Regions from separate parts of the Homo sapiens genome. Here regions 2, 3, 4, 5, 6 and 7 are each linked to region 1. Evidence: promoter capture Hi-C in human tissues and cell types (Jung and others, 2019). All regions are on one chromosome and are shown on one strand. Each heading gives the region's core, a stretch centred on a gene start or on the middle of the fragment in contact. The rest is flanking DNA. Distances are from core to core; before and after follow the strand shown. Region 1 holds the start of SKOR2 (SKI family transcriptional corepressor 2). Region 2 has its middle 190 kb from the start of SMAD2. Region 3 has its middle 210 kb from the start of SMAD2. Region 4 overlaps LOC105372100 (a long non-coding RNA gene). Region 5 has its middle 260 kb from the start of MIR4527. Region 6 has its middle 230 kb from the start of MIR4527. Region 7 overlaps MIR4527HG (MIR4527 host gene).

Region 1 (2,698 bases), core at 81-2,580:
CACAACTCCTGAGCAACAAGCCCCTCACGTTTCTGTTCAATTGACTTTCCTTGGGTTTATTAACCTTTGATGAAGGTTAAGATTTCACATTTTTGCTCTTGTATTTAGGAGTGGTATGTTGTTGGTGCTATGACACAATCTGGGTGGGCTTTCAGCTTGGTAGATGTTTTTCCATCATTTCCACAATGCTAGGACTGTTTCACTAGGCAGCAATTGAAAATTCAGCTATGGTAGTAAAGGAAAAACTTAAAGGATTTCCCAGCCCCACCCCAGCCGGCATCCTTCTTAGAACATACTCCAAATAAGTGGTTTCTTTCCTTTCCGATAAACTAGCCAGTGGTCGTTTTGACTCTTAACAGCTGGTCAATTGGGACGCACTATATTGACACTTCATTAATACACTAGGGTGCGCCTCATTTAGGGAAACTGTGAGGAAATGTTTTCTCATCCTAGTCTTTATTTTAGGGGAGGAGATCATGCTTCTACATGTTTTCCTGATTAAATTTATTTATTTCTCCAGGAAAATTGGCAACTTGCTGAAGGACTCTTCCATGTGGGGGACCTCCCTGCTTCCCTGCCCCACCCTTTCCTTGTGTAGAGGTAGCCTTACGGATCTTGTAAAATGGGTTAGAGGACGATTCTGAATGAAGTTTGATAAATCGATGTGCATATGCACATATTGGGGTCCTCACCTAATTGTACACTCCATAAAATAGAGAAGGCTGCAGTGACTCTGCATCTTGTCCTATAAAGCAAATGTATATGCAAAAGTCGGGGCACTCCAAGTTTTCTGATTGGGCACCCTATGTGGAAACTTCTCTCCTTTTTCTCATTTCATAGCGTTTCAAAGGAGTCACTGAAGCTAATTTATTCTCCAGCTGACTGTGGATTCTGTCTTCAGACACAGAGCAGCTTTGCATCCTGTACCAGAGGGATCATTCATGAAGGAGGGTGACTCAGAAATGAGGGGAGGAGACAATAACGGTCAGGGATATAGTTAATTTGGAGGCGTCCTTCTAGAATCCGGGGCCTCCAGGATCTAGGTCCCGGGATGCAGGCAGACTGTTCGCTTTCCACTCCTAAATCAGATCTGCGGCTCCAGCACCATTGCTGCAGTTTACTCCGGGGCTGAGGAGGTTGTTGTCAATTGCGAGTTGGTTAGGTTGGTAGCTTTCGTGCCTGCTGAGAAAGGATCTCTCTGTTGCTCGCGCTGGCTTTCGCTCTCCCCCTCCCTCCCTGTAACATGCCAGCCCTTTAATGTGGAGTGTCAGGGAGACGGTGACGTCACCCTGCCCGCTGGGTGGCGTCCCCTCGGTCCGACACGAGTTCAGAGACAGACGCTGTCAGACTGCGCTCCACTTGGGGCTCTCCTGCCGCGGGTTTCTGCGTACCCACACTTTCTGCGGTGGAGGGGACGCCCCGCCGCAATTCAGGCCGTCATTCTCCCCAGGCCGGGGTTTGAGCGCCATTCGCTCGGGCCAGAGCCCGGATCTTCGCGCGGAGCCCGCCAGAGTCCCGCCCGCTGGATACGAGGACCCGCTTGGATGCTTCGCCTCCGAGCGCCCTCGGAAGATGGGCCGGCAGCCACACGCCTAAAGACACCCAGAGGTTACCAGGTATTGCCGGAACCGGCCGCCCCAATCCGGCACACAGCTTGCTGGGCACCTATTTGAGATCCCCAGCGGTAGGATTTTCCGCGTTAGGTTGAGGGGCAGCGGTGGGCTTCCGTGGTGACTGGTTTGGGAGTCGGGAGAACTAAGTTGGGGGTGGGGGGGTCTTTGGCTGTTGGGCAGGATAGGGAAGTTCACCAGGTTCCTTTCTCAGTTCAACTAACTTTTAATTGTCTCTTCTCCCCTCCCCACCCACCCAAAAAATAATGCCCCAACCAAAACCTTGTGTCTGCTCTGACGGCAGTTTCTGGGAGGGCTTGGGGTAAAAGTGAGGAGACACTTCTGCCTGGTCTACTGCTGCTAAGGCTGCGAGTCCTTAACGCAGAGCCAGCTTCCCGCCCCGGCTGGCCAGCCGCGCGCCTTGCTGGGGAGCGAGAGTTGGAATTATCCCAGGGTCTTATTAAGCGGATATGAATCTTGTTTGGTAGGGAAATGAGCATCGAAGGGCCACCTGACGAAGCTAGTGTTGGTTGTATCAGACTCGGGTGTCACTGCGCCTTGAACTGCCATGTAACGCCCTGTCCCCTGGAAATATTGTCTCTGATCCACCCAAAGTGACAAGCAGGCTTTCCTCTCCTTTGATCGCGTCGAGGTTTGTTCAAGCTTCCTGGAGGCCGCCAAATGTAATGAGAACTGAGGATCCAGGGGGCAGCAGGACAGAGGCTGCTGTATAGATGCCACAGGGGCCCAGAGAGAGGACACGGATAAGAAATTGGGTGAGGGAGTAAGATCGTGTACCCTCTGAAAGCACTGTAATAGCGAACTCGCTGTACGTGGCCGAAAGGGGCCACGCTATGGCCTCTGGTGATTTTTCAGGGCAAAGCATGCCTTGGCCAATGCGCTTGAGATGTAGCTGTGGAAAGATCAGTGTTTGTTTTCCTAGGGAGTGAGCCACTTTCCTTCTTTCCACTTAGTGGCATTGTCACTAAAATTTCTTTCCGCTTCCTTGTTCTGTATTTTCAACTTACTGAATATTTTCCCTCATTGTGGCATTCTGTTGACTGGAGGTGAAGTTAGAAATTTTACCA
Region 2 (2,698 bases), core at 65-2,564, 490 kb before region 1:
AGCCAGAGAAAAGAAAATGTTATCAAGAAAATCGCAGGGCCAGGTGTGGTGGCTCATGCCTCTAATCCCAGCATTTTGGGAGGTTGAGGCAGGAGGATCACTTGAGCCCAGGAGTTCGAGGCTGCAGTGAGCTATGATGGTGGCATTGCACTCCAGCCTGGCAGTCAGAGCAAGACCCTGTCTCTAAGAAAAAAAAGAAAAGAAAAAAACAGAAAAAAAATCATGAAGAAGAGGAAATCTATTTATTATTTACTAAGTGGAAGTGGAGCATCATGTCGAGTAGGCTGAGGAGGAGGAAGAGGAAGGGTTGGTTTTGCTGTCTCAGGGGTGGCAGAGGCGGAAGGAGACCTGCCTGTAAGTGGATCTGTGCAGTGCAAACCCATGTGGTTCAAGGGTCAACTGTATATTCACTCCCTGGGGCTTCTGTAACAAATTATCACAAACTGAGTGGCTTAAAACAACAGAAATTTAATTATCACAGTTCTGAAGTGTAGAAGGGTTGATTCTTCTTGGAGGCTGTGAGGGAGAGCCTGTTCCATGCCTCTCTCCTAGCTTGGGTGGCTCCTGTCAACCCTTGGCACTCCTTGGCCTGCAGCTCCATGATCCTGCTCTTTGCTTCCATCTCCACATAGCCTTCTCTGTGTCTCTGCATTCTTTCCTTTTCTTATAAGGACCCCAGTCCTTGGACTTAGGGCCCACCCTAAAAGATCCCATCTCAAGATCCTTAATTATATCTGCACACACCCTCCTTGCAAATAAGGTCACACTAACAAGTGCTGGGGGTTGGGTCTGGGACTTAAATGTGTCTTTTTGGGTAACTCACTCCAACCCACTACGCATAGGAACAAGAATTGGATTGATATCATATTCCTCATTAGCACAATTGGATACAAGAAAATAATGGAGCAATGTTTTCAAAGCTCTGAGGGGAAATGGCTTTGAACATAAATGATCATTCAAGTGCGAGGGTAAAATGAAGCTACATCAGACAAGTAAGGGTTCAGAACATTTACCAGCCTTCCAGTTCTTCTTTGGAAGAATTATTGTCTTTGGCTAGTGTGTAGGATGCCTGCCTTCCTCCATCTCCTCCCCTGTCAGCAAGGAAAAAGTATCCCAAATAGCCTGGCATTAATACCTTTACAACATTAAGATATTGATATATAAAAATACTAACATATTGATATATAAAATATTAATATATTTATGTTGTTTAACAAACTATTACAGTTATTTAGACAAAAATATTATTAGATAACATAAGAGAGTGGTTTGTTATCCTGTTCTCCCCATCCTAAATCTGCACTCCCCAGAGTAACCCCTCTCAACTCTTTTAGCTATTTAATCTGCTATTTACTTCTATATTTTAAAATTTCTTGCATAGGTAGCTATTTCTTGATTTCTCAGTTTTAAGAGTTATTGATTGACTTTCAACCACAGATAATTAAATTTTAGCTCTTTACACACCCATTTGCTCTCTCACCAAACACACAAACTATCCTTCCCCCATCCTCCAATAGAGCTGTATCACAATTTTTCATAAAAGTCACTAGTTGGGTATTTATATTAGTATGAGCATATAAATATTCATAGCTAAGCCATGTAGGGTGCTATGAGTATAATTCTTTTTTCTTCCTCCTGGATTGATACTTGCTTTTGTTTTCATTTGCTTAGTTTATAACTTGTTAGTGTATTGCAAATCTATTCCTAAATTCTTCTACAGAATTGAAAATCTCTTTAGAATATGTTGAAATATGTTAACTATTTGATTAGCTATCATCCTGGGATTTTTCTTCACCTCTTTTCTTGGTGGGATTCTTGGGTCCCATGTCTTTCTTTTTCTAGGTTTACTTCCTTATTTTGGAGATCTGTATCATTCAGTAGTTTCCTGTGAAAAATGAAAAACTCTCACTCTTGGCAGTTTGGTTGGTTATAGAATTATAAATTGGAGAATATTTTTCTACCCTCTTTGAAAGCATTGTTTCGTTGTCTTTTAGCTTCCAGTATTGCTATAGATATTCTGATTCTGAATCATTTGGATATGATCTTTTATTTTAAATGGGATCTTTTTCTACACTCTGGAAGCTTTTAGGGTCTTCTGTTGATTAATCTCTTTAAAAGACTGGGATGCCCTTCTTTTTCTTTCTGCATGTAAAGAGATGTGATGGTTGCAGTCCTAGCAGCCATACTGAACCATGAGATAATGTTGGAAGAAGCAGCCCTGTTCTGCAAAGCAATAAGATAGAACAAGCCTGAATTTCTGACATCATGCAGAGTCATTGCCATTGAGCTGTCTTTCACTTGAGAGAAAAATACATTTCTACACTTTTAAATTACTATTTTGTGTGCTCTTTGTTTAACAAAGCTAAACATTTCTGAATGATAATATGGACACAATAACATATTTTCCTTCACGAAATCACTTTTAAAACACTTTCAAATAACTCTCAATGCTTCTATGATAAAAATACACAATTACTTTCTGCCCAAATTTATCTGAATAAAATTGAGATGGGCATTATATAATTGAGCATCTTACATACAACAAATACAGGAAAAGACTGAATCTGGAGGAAAACATAATAAGGTTAAAAGAAGCTAGTAAAACTTGTTGTTTATTGTAAAAATGTTTAAAAGCTGAAAACCACCCAGAAAAATTTCAGATGCCATCATGGGGGATAGCAGGGTTGAGGCGGTGAGG
Region 3 (2,698 bases), core at 77-2,576, 470 kb before region 1:
TCATACATGATATGCAAAAAGGCAGGCCTTGCATACACCTATTGTTTCATAAAGGTTGAGCAGCTGCACTGCTGCCAATGTGATGAGGCTTACCAAGGGCCTCGCTTGTCATGGTGCAGGAGTGGGAGGCTGCAGGGACTGGCCCAGCTACAGAAGATGGCCCCTGAAAACCACCCAGCAGGAGCTGCAGTGCCCCAGCAGTTCTGCTCTGAAAATTCAAGTCTCATAAAGGCTTGAGCATGGAAGAAGCTTCCTGGCAGGGGCAATTCTCCACACCGAGTTTTGGAGGGAGCTGTCCAGCCGTGACAGGAACCTGGCTGGTGGTTGTGGCTGGGGGTGTGGTCTAGGGAGCAGGACAAAAGCTGGGCCTGGTGTCTCCTCTGAGCCTAGGCTGTAGTCCAACAGGGGTGGGAGGACACAGCAGGCAAGTGCAGTGCACAAGCCCCTCCTGCTCCTCTGGCTGGAGCAGAAGGACAGGAGCAGGCTGGAAATTCTGACACTCTTGGGCCCCTGGGGGGTGAAGGGTGTTTTAATCCCCAGTACGTGTCCGAGTTTGAGCAGGATGGTGGATTCCAGGCCACTGCCGGCCGGTGGGGTCAAGGCTGCCGGTCCTCTGCCAGCAGAGCTGTGGGTGGACTCCATGTCCAGGCTGGGAGAGGCAGGGGAAGATGGGGTGTGGGAGTGATGGGAGCCCTGATTTATGACTGCCTTTGCTGGTTTGTCCACTCTGAGACACTGGCCACACTGGGAATGTGTTGTGGGGGCTGCTCTGCTCTTGGGGTGGCAGCTAAGTGTACAAGCGTGGGGAGCAGGGGCTACATGGCTGTGTTCACACAGGGTCTCACCCTGGGCTGGATGTGATTGAGATCTTCATGTTTCTGGATGATACTGGGGGAGAGAAAGTGACCGCTGTCTTCTCCACCTTCCTTGAACCTGAATCCACAAACCCGAGGCAGGGGGTTTGCTTTCTACAAAGCTGCCCTTCAATAAGTAAAAGTGTGTCTGTGAATGCCCCTTCTAGAACCAAGGGTCCATTTTCTTCCCCACATAAAAGGAAATGAAATGTGCAGGGCTCTAATAAAACATGAAAGGCTTAGGTGTAAGCCGGGAAGCAGGGCTTTGAATGGGATTCGGTGGTCTCAGCTGCTTGGAGGTGTATCTATTATATGTCAAGCAATTAGAAACAGGTTTCTATTAACTGGCTGACTTTGTTTGCAGCTACCAGTGAAATGGACCGCTCTCCCAGTGGCATCTGCCAACCCTTGCACACCTTGGAATCAGTTACAGGTGTTCAGGGTTGTAGGTCTTATATCTATATGTTGAATATGCACATGGTTTTTGCAAAGGCACTGGGACCTTAGTTATAATACTGATACCAGATTGATTGATTTATTCATTCATTTATTCAGCCATGCATGTTCATAAATACCGCATGACCATGTGTGTGCAAATGACATCAAGTAATTCAATAATAGGAGGAAGTAGATAATAATTGTCACCTGTGTGGAACTGATAACTGCCATGGGAGTTTGAAACTGGAGGATTGTTTCTGGGGGGGCGCCATGGAGAAGGAGGATGGAGCTGGATGTTGGGGCTGAGTGAGATGGAGTGAGGCAGGTGGGTCAGAAAATGGCATGAGCCAAAGGGCAGACACAGTCTAGCGGGGACCATGAGGAGGCTGATCTGGCTGAAGGGACAAATGAGGGAGGGTGAGAGAAGGCAGTTTCCATGGGAGGCTGTGGAGGAAGAGCAAATCCAGAGATCCTAATACCTCCTGCTCTCTTCTTATGTTACTGCCACACCCTATTGTGCATGGCCTGACAATGGTTTCTGGCTGGCCTCACTGAAACCAGCCCTGGGGTCACACATGGGAGTGCGCAGTCCCCAAGCTAAGCCTCTGAAGCATATCCCAGGATCCTCCACACTGGTGCATTTGGAAGTCTGTTGAGGAGTCTGCAGGTGGCTGGAGCTCTAGAATCCTCGGTCCACCCCTGAAGAGCTAGGGCAGGGCCTGGTTGCTGAATGTCAGCTCAGCCTAGGAGGAGCTTCTCCATAGCAGAGTGGGTGTGTTTTTTGGTGTGCCCAGGTAGGAACTGGGAGATCCTCTCTTGTGTGGAGGCACTTGTCACGCTGGCTGGACAGTGAGACTAGAGGAAAATCTGGGTTTTCCTTGACTTTCCTGCCAGTGCCTTTGTCTTGTAGAAGAAGCACCATGAAAGGTGCTTGAATGCCAAGCAAAGGGAGGGAAGTTCTGGCAGAGACTGAGAACAGGGTTGCCCTATGCAGCTGCACAGGTTGTCTACTGCACAACCCCAGCAATGCCTTTCATGTAGAACAGAGCCCGTGGGGCTGTGCAGGATGTAATCCCAGCATCCTTGCATGGCAGCCCTGGCCTGGGCGAGGAAGGCTCAACTGGTGGAAGAAGAAATGCCCCTTTAAGAGCATACAGGCCCAAGGGGTAAACTCACCAGCTGTTCAGACACAACTCTCCCTCTTTAGGTTCCCCTTAATGGCATTTGGCATCCCATGGGTCATGGCCAGTCTGTTTCCAAGTTTTACTGAAAGAAAACTTGTGGCTTTGACTGGGATTATCTCTGAAACCCTTCCTCTACCTGCAGAGGTGTGATATCTGGCCTGGCCTGGGGAAGAGACAGTGATGGGGTTTGGGGGAACAGCAGATGGCCCAGCAAACTAGACA
Region 4 (2,698 bases), core at 106-2,605, 430 kb before region 1:
AAAGTTCCAGGCCCGATGTAGATTGGGAGAGTGGAGAAGAGTGATAGGGATGGCTGAGCCAGAAGGGCCCCTGCCAATCCTGAAGCCTGCCTCTCCTTTCACAGAGGGGGAGACTCAGGACCCAGAGAGGTGAAGGAACTTGTCTAGGGTCACCTAGCTTGTCTGAGAAGGAGCTCTGACACAGCAGTGCATGACACCACTGTGACTTAAGACTGCCATTTCCCTGTGGCAGTGGAAGAGTTGACCTAAACTTAATGGAAACCCCCATGACACTTCCAAGGGATCACTGAGAGTCGGCTCATTGGTCCATACATTCATGAATCAGTCACACCCACACCTCTTAGCTTGGCATCCATGGTCTTCCATAATCAGGCTTGATTCTCTCAGTTTTTGGGGGTTGTCTGCTAGTCCTGTCTACTGTAACTCTTTTACTTCTATAAGAATGTTCTCTACTGCATTGTCCTCCAAATGCACCCTGAATCTTTAATCCTTTGGGCTTCCACAAAATCTGAAATAATAATAAGACCTGGTATTCATCTAGTATATTTTATAGGTATTTATTTACTATGTTCCGGGCACCATCCCCTCAAAATTTATTTGTATTAATTCATTTAGCTTCACAGCAACGCTGTCTAATATGTTTTATTCATATTCTCATATAACAGATGAGAAAACTGAGGGACAGAGAGCTTAATCCAGGCAGTCTGCTTCTGGAACCTGCACTTCTAATCATTAGAATATGCTGCCTTTCTGGACTGATGTTTTCTTTCAAATGTATTCATCTTGCAAGACCCATGTCACATTGTTTCTTCCCCAGGAAGCTTTCCCTGCTGTAGGAGATTGTATTATTATTCTCAGATACTTTCTGTTCTTTCCTGAGGATAATTATATCTCCCTGTTCCATCAATGGTTGGCTTGGGCATGTGACTTGCTTTGGTCATAACATGAGTGGAATGACACTCAGTGTGAATCTCATTCCATGAACTGTGAGGGGACATGACAAGTATTACAGTCCAAGGAGAAGCTTTACCAACTGGTTTTCTCTTTTCTCTCTATCATGACAAATAGAAATGTCCTGGATAGAGACTGCTCCATCAGCCTGGGTTCAAACGAAAACGATGGAACAGAGCATAGCTTGTTCATGTGCAGTGAGCTGGAAATCAATCTGATACAGACTGTTGCTGTTGTCAGCCACAGACAGTTTGGAGTCATTGGTTACTGCAGCATAACCTAGCCTATTCTGACTTACACACCTGCTCTTGTATCCCCATAGATCCCTTGCCCCAGCAGTCACTCCTGTTCCTGCTGGAAGTTCCTGACTTACATGATTTGCTAACTTGTCAAATCTTTTTCTCCCCTACAGGCTTGTCAATGCCTCCAGGGCAAGCTACATGCCTTACGCTTGTTTGCTTCCCCACTCCTTCCCCACACTTAGAACAGTCTAGGTACATAGTAGGCTCTTAGTATGTGAGTAACTATTGAGTTCTTGATATATATATATATAAAAATATATAAAATATATATAATATATATAAAATATATATATAAAATATATAATAGATAATATATATAAAATATATATAATAGATAATATATATAAAATATATATATAATATATTAAATATATATTATATATAAAATATATATTATATATAAAATATATATTTTATATATTATATATATAATATATATAATATATATAATATATATAAAATATATAAAATATATATAATATATAATATATATAAAATATATATAATATATATAATATATATAAAATATATATAATATATATAAAATATATATATATAAAATATATATATTATATATATTTTTTTTTTATGAAGGAGGACATTTCACAGAGATCCCATGGGGCCAGGCCACAGGTTCTGGTGACCCTTTCCCACTTCTCCTTATCGCTTTCTTTAACCAATCTTCTCTCAAAGCCATCCTCTGTGCTTTCCTCCCTTTGTCCATGTGCTGGAGACCTAGAAGAATAGTGAGGAGTCTTGCCTCACTATAGGTCTTCTCAGGGCTCTCTCTCTCTCTCTCTGTGTGTGTGTGTGTGTGTGTGTGTGTGTGTGTGTGTGTGTGTGTGTGTGGTGTGATCAAAGAGCAAAGAGCCCAGCCACCAATCCCATTCCTAAGTCCCCCATCTTCCTCCATGGCACCCCATCCAGGTCTAGGTCCAGCCTTAACACCTTGGGTCCTTGCTGCCTCACCTCTGAACACTGGGGGCTGAGTCAGAGGAGCTCTCCAAGTTCCTTGCAGGCCTAAGAGCCATGAGTTCAGGCTCATGTTTATGGCAGAGGAATAACTAGTGAGGAGAGGGAATGGGGCTGATATCTCTGCCACCTTCCTAGGGTGCAGATTTGAGAAGGAACTCACTGTCAGAGGCATGCAAATGCCAGCTCTACACTTTCTTCAATTTTGCTCCCTAGGAGCCTCACTCACCTCACCTAGTCACCCTAAATAAAACAGGATAATAGGAAATTGAGTATGAATTGAGGGATGAAGCTAGGCCTTCCTGTCCAAACTCCTCCCTCAGCACTGTGGTGAGTCACTGGCCACTTAACTTCAGCTCAACTTGTTTGGCTGATGCTGGTTTAAGAGTCTGTAGCCCCCTATGAGAATGCAAACATTCCAGGACTTATGTGTAGTAGCCATCAGCCAGCACTTCATGGAGTGTAGTCAACCA
Region 5 (2,698 bases), core at 79-2,578, 380 kb before region 1:
GACCAGAGCTGTTCCTATTCGGCCATCTTGGCTTGACCTCCCCATTTCCAAATGTATTTCATACCCTATCTATGCAGTGAAAGGTTTACACATTTCTCCATGCTATAAGCTTGGAGTACCTAATCCAGTGGATTGAATAACTACAGGATTCTTGCTCAAATTTCATTAAGCTCTAGAACCAGAATAAGCTGAGGAGTTCAGAATTGTTAAGAGTATAATGGGACAAAAAGTGTTAATGACAAAGAGCAAAAAAGTTGCTGAAGACATATGATGAAAACTTGTGTTGAGTACTTAGTATGTGCCAGGTATTTTCTGAGTCCTTCATGTATAGTAACTCATTTAATCTGAATAGACGAGGAAACTGAGGTTGAAGAATTAGTAAGTGCTATGAACCAAGGCAAACTGACCCCAGACTCTATTAATTACCATTTTCTATTGCCAAAGAGTCTGCTATGAGGTAACAGGATTGAGTTTTAAAAACAATTAGTTCAAAACACCATGCTCAGATGAATGTTGTCTCTTCAGGAGAGACAACAAAGTCCTTCAAAGTAGCTTGTTGGAAGGCTGTCTGTGGGTTTTCACTATGTGGACTTTGCTGAGCATAACTAGAATCATCTTTGGGAATTTCCATCACAATCTTGGCATAAGCCCTCAAATATCTTCATATGTTTTTAATCGTTTAAGGTGGATGTAATTTTTCTAAAAGAGTCAAAAGTTGCTTAGAAATTGGGTGCAGTGGCTCATGCCTGTAATCCCAGCACTTTGGGAGGCTAAGGCAGGCGGGTCATGAGGTCAGGAGTTGGAGACCAGCCTGGCCAACATAGTGAAACCCTGTCTCTACTAAAAATACAAAAATTAGTCGGGCATGGTGGCGCATGCCTGTAGTCCCAGCTACTTGGGAGGCTAAGGCAGGAGAGTCACTTGAACCCAGGAGGTGGAGGTTGTGGTGAGCCGAGATTGTGCCACTGCACTCTAGCCTGGGTGACAGAGTGAGACTGTCTCAAAAAAAAAAAAAAAAAAAAAAAGAAAAGAAAAAGAAATGCAAATTAAAACCATAACAAGATCCACTACAAACACACTAGAATGGCTAAATTATACCAAGTATTGATGAGGATGTGCAGCTACCGAATCACTCATACATTACTGATTGGAATGCAGAATGGGCCAGGCTCTTTGGAAAACACTTTGACAGTTTCTTATTTAATTAAGTATACACTTGCCATATGACAGAAAAGGAAAATAAAAAAAGCATGTCCACACAAATGCCTGTATATGTTTATAGTAGCTTTACTGATAATAGCTTCAAACAGGAAATAACCCAAGTGTCCATCAACAGGTAAGAAAATAAATAATTTTTGATATATTCATACACTGGAATACTACTCAGCAATAAAAAGGAATGAATGACTTGTACATGCAACAACATGGATATGTCTCAAAAGTATTTGCCGAGTGAAGGAAGCCAGACACAGAAAGCTTCAAATTATCTCATTTGATCTTTCCCCACACTGTTATCATCCTTATTTTAAAGGTGAAGAAACTGAGCATAGAGCAGTTAAGTTTAAGTCACATAGGCAGTAAGTTTTATAGAGCCCGACATTGAAGGGTGTGTTCTTAGTCGTTGTGTTACTCTGAAGGCTTCTGCCAACCACAGCCCCTGTGATAAACACTCAGACACTTTCCCAACCAGCCCTGAGACACTTGGGCCGGTTGTAACAGAAATGGAATCAGCTGTCAGAAGGGTGTGACAACACCCCCAAAGTGTAGTGCCACTCTGATAAAGCCCATGCCAATTGCTAGGGACGCAGCCTGCCCTGCAGCTCAGCTCACCCAGGTTATACATCTCCACTTCTAAAAAATAAATTAGGCAGGTAATAAGGATTATCTCTTTTAAAATTTGAGTTCCCATTGAAAAGACAATTGGATACGAGTGGAGGCTTGGGTTCGAATCATTGTTGTCCTCCTGCCTCCAAGAAGCTTTCAATTCCAACGCCCCCAGGCCCAGGCCAGGTACCCTTCCCCATGACACCACAGTGTCCCACACTTGTCTCTGTCTCAACTTGTCTTTGACCTAGTGCTTCTTTATGTGTCTATTTTCCCCACAAGAGCATGAGTGGCTTGGTGGCAAAGAGGGCTCTTACCCCAGTGCCTGGCACATCACAAATGCTCAAGAAGTGTTTACAAAATAAAAGGAATTAATATTTACTTACTATGTAAATTGGCCACCCAGTTAATAAACAGACATTTATTGATTATTTATGATTGGGCAGTTCCGTGGAGGATACATGTAAGAAACTGTTCTTGTTCATGGAATTTACTCACAAATTTTATTATTAAGAAATAAAAACAAGTATGTGAGGCAGAGCATATAACAGGTACTAAAAGAGTGGCCCCGACAGTAAGTTCTGGCAAAGGAGGGAGGGACCATGCAGGTTGAGGGATCCAGGAGGTTTCTGATCTGTACATGTCTGTGTCCCAGGTACTTAGGGTGGGACATGGAAGTAATTGGGGGAGTAGTTTTGTCATTTCCATGGCTGGAAGAAGTCACCTCTAAGTAGAAGAAGGGAAGCTTGTGAGCATCTTCAGTTTCACTGAGCTCCCATAATAGTAGAAATTGCAAGTTCAGGACTCTGGTCAGACCACATGGGGAGTTTTATATCTTTGCCCAGGAAGATTTACAAATGCATGCAGTTTCAAA
Region 6 (2,698 bases), core at 94-2,593, 360 kb before region 1:
AATAATAATAATTCATATGTTATAAGGTTGTTGTAATCACTAAATGAGTTAAATATATAGAAATATGCTATTAATATAAAACTATACATAAATATATAAAGCTTCTAGAATAATGCCTGACATATAGTAGATGCTATATAATATTTCTTTTATTGCTAGTATTTTATCTTGGAGATTGTTCCATAGTAAGCATGTAGCACTACCTCATTCTTTTTTCCGCTTTATTCTTTTTAATAGTTATAGAGCATTCTATACTACACATAAACTATGATTATTTAATCAGTTCTCTGTTTGACATTTGAGATATTTTTAGTGAATGCTCTTACATGTAATTTTGTGCTCACATATATGTAACTATATCTGGGTTTATGAAATAATTTTATACATACATAATTTCAAACAATATGTTCTTTGAATATATTTGTCAAAGAATATATTTAATACAATATTTTAAAAAGACAGATATTTGCAGTTTCCAAATCCTAGTACATTCCCATCAATAGCATTTGAAAGTGTCTGTCTCTACAAACTTATCAATTAAGTGTATTATCAAATGTTTTGATGTGGTTAATCTGTTAGTTTCTAATTTTAGAAAAATTGGCATTGTTCTTATTGTGAGTTAGACTTTCTTTTTATATGTATAAAAACTATCTATATTTTATTTTCTCTTCATGTTCCCTTGCCAATTTTTGTATTGGATAGTTAAGTTTTTCTCTTATTGATCTGTAGACACCATCTATATATTTAGGTTATTAGCACCATGTCATTTATATTGCAAATATTTTTTTTCTTAGTTTGTTGTCTTTTGACTTTGTTTATGGCATTCTTTTCCGAGTAGAAAATTTTAATTTTAATGTATTCAAATTTATCATTCTTTTCTTTTATGGACTGTTTGTTTTACGTCCTGTTTAGAAAGGGCTTCCCTCCTATATTTAAAATGTTCTCTCTATGCTTTATTGAATTATTTGAAGTTGAGTAGTGTTAAGATGAGATTAAAGTTAGAGAAATGCTGCTCTCTGGCTATCATTTAAAGAACAGATGGAAGGGGAACAAGACCAGAGACAGGGAACTGGCTCGGAGGCTTTCATACTGATTAAAATGAGACTATGAAAGGCCGAGCTTAAGCAGGAGGAAAAGCAGAATCCAGAGTGTTTAGAAGATATCATCAAAAGGACTTAGTGATATGAAGGTAAGAGGCAAGGAGACATCTACACCACACCCAGGCTTCTGGCTTGGGCCAGACTGGCTTCTTCTTTGGCCCTTGTGTTATTGCATTTCTCTTGACTCTTGTGTCCTGGCTTCCCATGATACCTGGCATCTCTCAAGTTTAGGAGCACCTCAGAGATCTCTCTGGTTCTCTGTAGAACCTAGGCTAGTGAACACACCAAAGAGGGCTGTGAAACATTTGTGTCTGAGCCACACTAGAGTGTCTTCAGAGGAGGAGGTCATATTTGCTGTTGCCTGTGATAAACTGGTGAGTAACAATATGTTCTCCTGACTTCTTGAATGGGCAGGAAGGTATTCTTAGTCCAGCTTGCAATGCGCTTGGGAAGGGGGCAGGAGGTTCTAGTGCCCTAAGCTCATGACCTGCCTACAGGACTTCTTCACCCATGTAGCCCACTGGCACATAAAACTCTGTGTTATCACCCCTGCCCTATAAGTCTCCACTGAATTAATGGAACCATCATCCATCCAGGCTCCTAAGCTAGAAATCTCCACCATCCCTAACCTCTCCTTCTTCCTTATACACCTCAGCACAGAAATCTTCAAATCCTGGCAATTATTCCTCCAAAGTAGCTTCAAACCCTCTATTCATCTCCATGGTTGCTGCCTCAGTTCAGACTTTGTCTCCTACTTTGTGGACTCTAGTGGCCTCCTAATCAGTCTCCCTGCCTCACTTCCTTCTATTTCCTCTCTATCTCATTGGCTACAGTGATTGCTCAGAAAATGGAGGTGACAAGGTCACTCATCTACTTAAATGCCATAGTGATTAATGAATAAGTAATGTAGGCCAGGTGCAGTAGGTCACGCCCATAATCCTAGCACGCTGGGAGTCCAAGGTGGGTGGATCCCTTGAGCCCAGGAGTTTGAGACCAGCCTGGGCAACATGGCAAAATCCCATCTCTACAAAAAATACAAAAATTAACCAGGTGTGGTGGTGTGCACCTGTGGCCCCAGCTACTTGGGAGGCTAAGGTGGGAGGATCACCTGAGCCCAGGAGGCAAGGTTTTGGTGAGCCATGATTACACCACTGCACTGCAGCCTGGGTGACAGAGTGAGACCCTGTTTCAAAAAAAAAAAAAAAAAGAAAGAAAAAGAAGAATAAGTAATGTACTTGGTATACAAGAACTTTTATAACCTGGTTCTTCCTCTGTCAACACCCCATGTTGCCCCTGAACCCTTCTCTGTTCCCAGACAGAATAAGTCCTCACACATCTCTGTGCCTTTGACCTTGCTATAGGAGGAAGAATAATGGTTCCTCAAAGATGTTCATGTTTGAATTCCTGGAATCTGTGAATCTGCTACTTTTTATGGTAAAGGTGAATTAAGCTTGTTAATCAGTTGACCAGTTGAACATACAATAGGGAGATTATCCTGGAGTATCAAAGTGGGCCCAATGCCATCACAAGGTGCTTAAAGTTGGAGAAGGGAGACAGACGAGGAGGTCAGAGTGATGCCATGTGTGAAAGACTCAACT
Region 7 (2,698 bases), core at 88-2,587, 330 kb before region 1:
GATTCTGTGGCATAGACAGGGCAGGTATTGCCATTTTACACATGAGGAAACTGAGGCCCAGAGAGGTTAAGTTCACAGCACTAGTGTAGAATTCCTCAGCAGATAGAATTCTCCTTGTCTGAAAAGAGGCCAAAGAGTCAGCACCTGTGAGGTGTCAGACACTTGCGAGATCCCTAGATACCTCAGCGAGGGCTCAGCCATGCAGAGATGGATAGGGGGCCTGTGAGGGGGCAGACAACAAACAACTCACTAAACTGAGATCCCCACACGTTGTTGTAACTTCCATGGAGGAAATACATGTAGGAACACCTTCAAGATGGCTGGGAATGTAACTCTCAGAGGCCAGCATGTCATTTGAAAACCAAGTGGTAGGAAAGGGGCAGTACAGGAGACGAGAAAGAGACATTGCTTGGTGGAAGCAGCAAGCCCTGAAGTATCAGCGTCCTGAGAGGACATGGTTTGTATCCTCAGGCAAGAGGAAGGAACCCAGTGAGGGACCAGCGTGGAGTAGGGAGGGGAGGAGAGACTGGTTGAGTAGACAGGGGCCAGAGTATTTCAGGCCTTCTAGGCCAGGTAAGATATATGCATACTATCAAATGCACCTTTACACCCATATACACAAACATGGGCATCTGCACACCCAACCACACATACGCACACATGTGTGTGCTTAACATGTTCACATGTGCACTGACACACATACATAAACTTACCTGAAAATGCATGTACACACAGAAGCACAAATACACAACTCTCTTACACACATTATCATCTGCACTTAAACACACTTGCTCACCTATCCACACTGATTGCACCCACATGCACATTCATATCTGCACAAAAGCACTCACACACACTCTCCTGCACATGTGTGCTTTGTTTCACAGATGCACACATTTCTACATGCATGCACACTTGCCCACTCACACATAGCTACTCACATGTGCATGTGTACAGCCTACAACAAGCCCAGCTCAGATAAGCTCTCAGCCACAGATAAACTTCTCTGCTGGTTGGTTATAATCTTTCATTGGAACTGACACGTTGATAGCCCCAGTTTTTCTAGGAAGTGACCTTCATGCCAGCTATTGATTTCTAGTGACTATCAGGCGCCTGCCACTGGAGTGACAGGCCCGGTCAGAGGTCAGCCCTTAAATAAAGCTTCTGGATTACTAAGCACCAGCCACTCTAATGAAAATGGAAATTGGCATCCCTGGCTCCCTTTTATGTGGAGTGTTTCCGCTGATGGGGTTTCAGCTCCGAGTGACCACCTGCACCCCCTCTCCCAGACCCAGGGTGCTGTGGGTGCCCACAGGTGTGTGTTTTACCAGGGAGCTGGACCAAAGGCTATAGGTGGTGACAGCTACCACGGCCTGAAGCTTCCTGGATTCTGCCTTCTAGCAACATCCGGGGCTGTCCCTATAAGCTTGACATTCAAGTAACAGACAATTGCTACAGGCCCCAAGACCCACAGGTGACCGGCTTTGTGGTCTTGGGCAGGTGGTGTCATCTCTCTGAGCTTTGGTTACTTCCACCCTTTCTGCCTCATCCACACATACTTGTTCATCTCCTCCCATTTCACAAGGCTGGGATCCAAATAAATGAAGAGGAAGTGTACCAAGTTGTATACAAAACAGCACAAGATGATGCTACTAGTATCCCTGTTTTAAAAACATCACAATTATGAATTATAAAATTCTACTTAATTAAATCACATGTTTATTTGATGATCCAGTAGCCTTTCTTGTTGCTGCAGCATCTTGGGGTCTTGTGGCAAGCAAAAGTTATGGGATGGGAAGGAGCTGAAGGAAGCTTTGCCTTTTGCTTCTCCTGCCAGGAACACAGAGTTCCCACTGCCTCACCTGGTATTCCGGACTTGTGACAGCCTTCCAGCTGATCACAATCAAACCTATCAGCCAAACACCATCTCTGAAACATGCCCTGTGTTTCTACTCCCATTAGTACCTACGCCCCCCACCAACACCGTCCACCCCCGTGGCTTCGCCCTGAATGCACCTTCTCTCCCCTCTATCTGTGTGAGCACACCACCCCCAGACTAGCCTACAATCCTCCTCCTCCTTGCAGCCTGCCCAGATCACATAGCTCATACAATCCAGGAATCCACGAATAGTCCTTTCTCCTCTTTGGCTTCAGGAAGTGCATTCAGCCTTCCTTCTGAATAATTTTCACCTCAAATATAGATTTACCACAACAAAAAACCTTGTCTTGAATAATGTGGATTGGAAAAAGCAGAAAAGGCTGCCAGCCGCCAGCTTCCTAGTATCCCTCCAGTGCAAACATCTGTCCCTTCCTGACTCTACCTGTACATCTAATGACCTTTCTGGCCTGTGTGTTCCTTTGGAACAGGGGTCATAAAATGAAGTTTGCATGTCCTGAAGGGAAGATAAGCAGAAATTAGAAATGTCATCAAATTAATTATTTGGCAAAGGAAGTGATTTGTTTAACAACATCAGGGAAGCAAGAGTTGCTGGTGGACCCTGAAACTCAGATAAATCACCCATGTTGAAGGGAAGAAGCCCAAGCAATCTAGGTGAGTCCATCGGCCAGACCCTTGGCCACAACTTGCACCAGACCAGAACCAACTGGGGACCTCCTGGCCTGCAAGACAGCAAGGGGGCATGCAATTCAGGGAAAGGGGTCAAGAAGAGTTCAGGCTGTACAATTTATATGTGTGGTT

What was found. The method cuts DNA at HindIII sites, captures the fragments that hold promoters and counts their contacts. A contact is called where the count stands out against the background at its distance.
Region 2: a contact is called between a fragment that was not itself captured here and the fragment with the promoter of SKOR2 in region 1, in 1 of the 25 tissues and cell types used here (dorsolateral prefrontal cortex).
Region 3: a contact is called between a fragment that was not itself captured here and the fragment with the promoter of SKOR2 in region 1, in 7 of the 25 tissues and cell types used here (IMR-90 fibroblasts, dorsolateral prefrontal cortex, heart left ventricle and 4 more).
Region 4: a fragment that was not itself captured here is called in contact with the fragment with the promoter of SKOR2 in region 1 in 4 of the 25 tissues and cell types used here (bladder, mesendoderm cells, spleen and 1 more).
Region 5: a contact is called between a fragment that was not itself captured here and the fragment with the promoter of SKOR2 in region 1, in 4 of the 25 tissues and cell types used here (H1 embryonic stem cells, dorsolateral prefrontal cortex, lymphoblastoid cells and 1 more).
Region 6: a fragment that was not itself captured here is called in contact with the fragment with the promoter of SKOR2 in region 1 in 2 of the 25 tissues and cell types used here (aorta and mesendoderm cells).
Region 7: a contact is called between a fragment that was not itself captured here and the fragment with the promoter of SKOR2 in region 1, in 4 of the 25 tissues and cell types used here (H1 embryonic stem cells, bladder, mesendoderm cells and 1 more).

What each region holds. Positions count from the first base shown.
Region 1 is chr18:47,250,292-47,252,989 of GRCh38, reverse strand. SKOR2 (SKI family transcriptional corepressor 2) reads left to right here and starts at 1,330. Exons shown (of 9, transcript NM_001278063.4): 1 at 1,330-1,616. RefSeq lists an enhancer at 946-1,462. The HindIII fragment of the contact is 10,120 bases long and covers 1-2,698 here.
Region 2 is chr18:47,741,368-47,744,065 of GRCh38, reverse strand. No RefSeq gene overlaps it. Among named protein-coding and RNA genes, the nearest start is that of SMAD2, 190 kb to the left of the region's middle. The HindIII fragment of the contact is 3,910 bases long and covers 1-2,698 here.
Region 3 is chr18:47,722,399-47,725,096 of GRCh38, reverse strand. No RefSeq gene overlaps it. Among named protein-coding and RNA genes, the nearest start is that of SMAD2, 210 kb to the left of the region's middle. The HindIII fragment of the contact is 3,467 bases long and covers 1-2,698 here.
Region 4 is chr18:47,683,849-47,686,546 of GRCh38, reverse strand. All of the region lies in intron 4 of LOC105372100 (a long non-coding RNA gene), which reads right to left. Among named protein-coding and RNA genes, the nearest start is that of SMAD2, 250 kb to the left of the region's middle. The HindIII fragment of the contact is 3,983 bases long and covers 1-2,698 here.
Region 5 is chr18:47,634,665-47,637,362 of GRCh38, reverse strand. No RefSeq gene overlaps it. Among named protein-coding and RNA genes, the nearest start is that of MIR4527, 260 kb to the right of the region's middle. The HindIII fragment of the contact is 4,400 bases long and covers 1-2,698 here.
Region 6 is chr18:47,607,901-47,610,598 of GRCh38, reverse strand. No RefSeq gene overlaps it. Among named protein-coding and RNA genes, the nearest start is that of MIR4527, 230 kb to the right of the region's middle. The HindIII fragment of the contact is 5,012 bases long and covers 1-2,698 here.
Region 7 is chr18:47,583,758-47,586,455 of GRCh38, reverse strand. All of the region lies in intron 2 of MIR4527HG (MIR4527 host gene), which reads right to left. Among named protein-coding and RNA genes, the nearest start is that of MIR4527, 200 kb to the right of the region's middle. The HindIII fragment of the contact is 3,652 bases long and covers 1-2,698 here.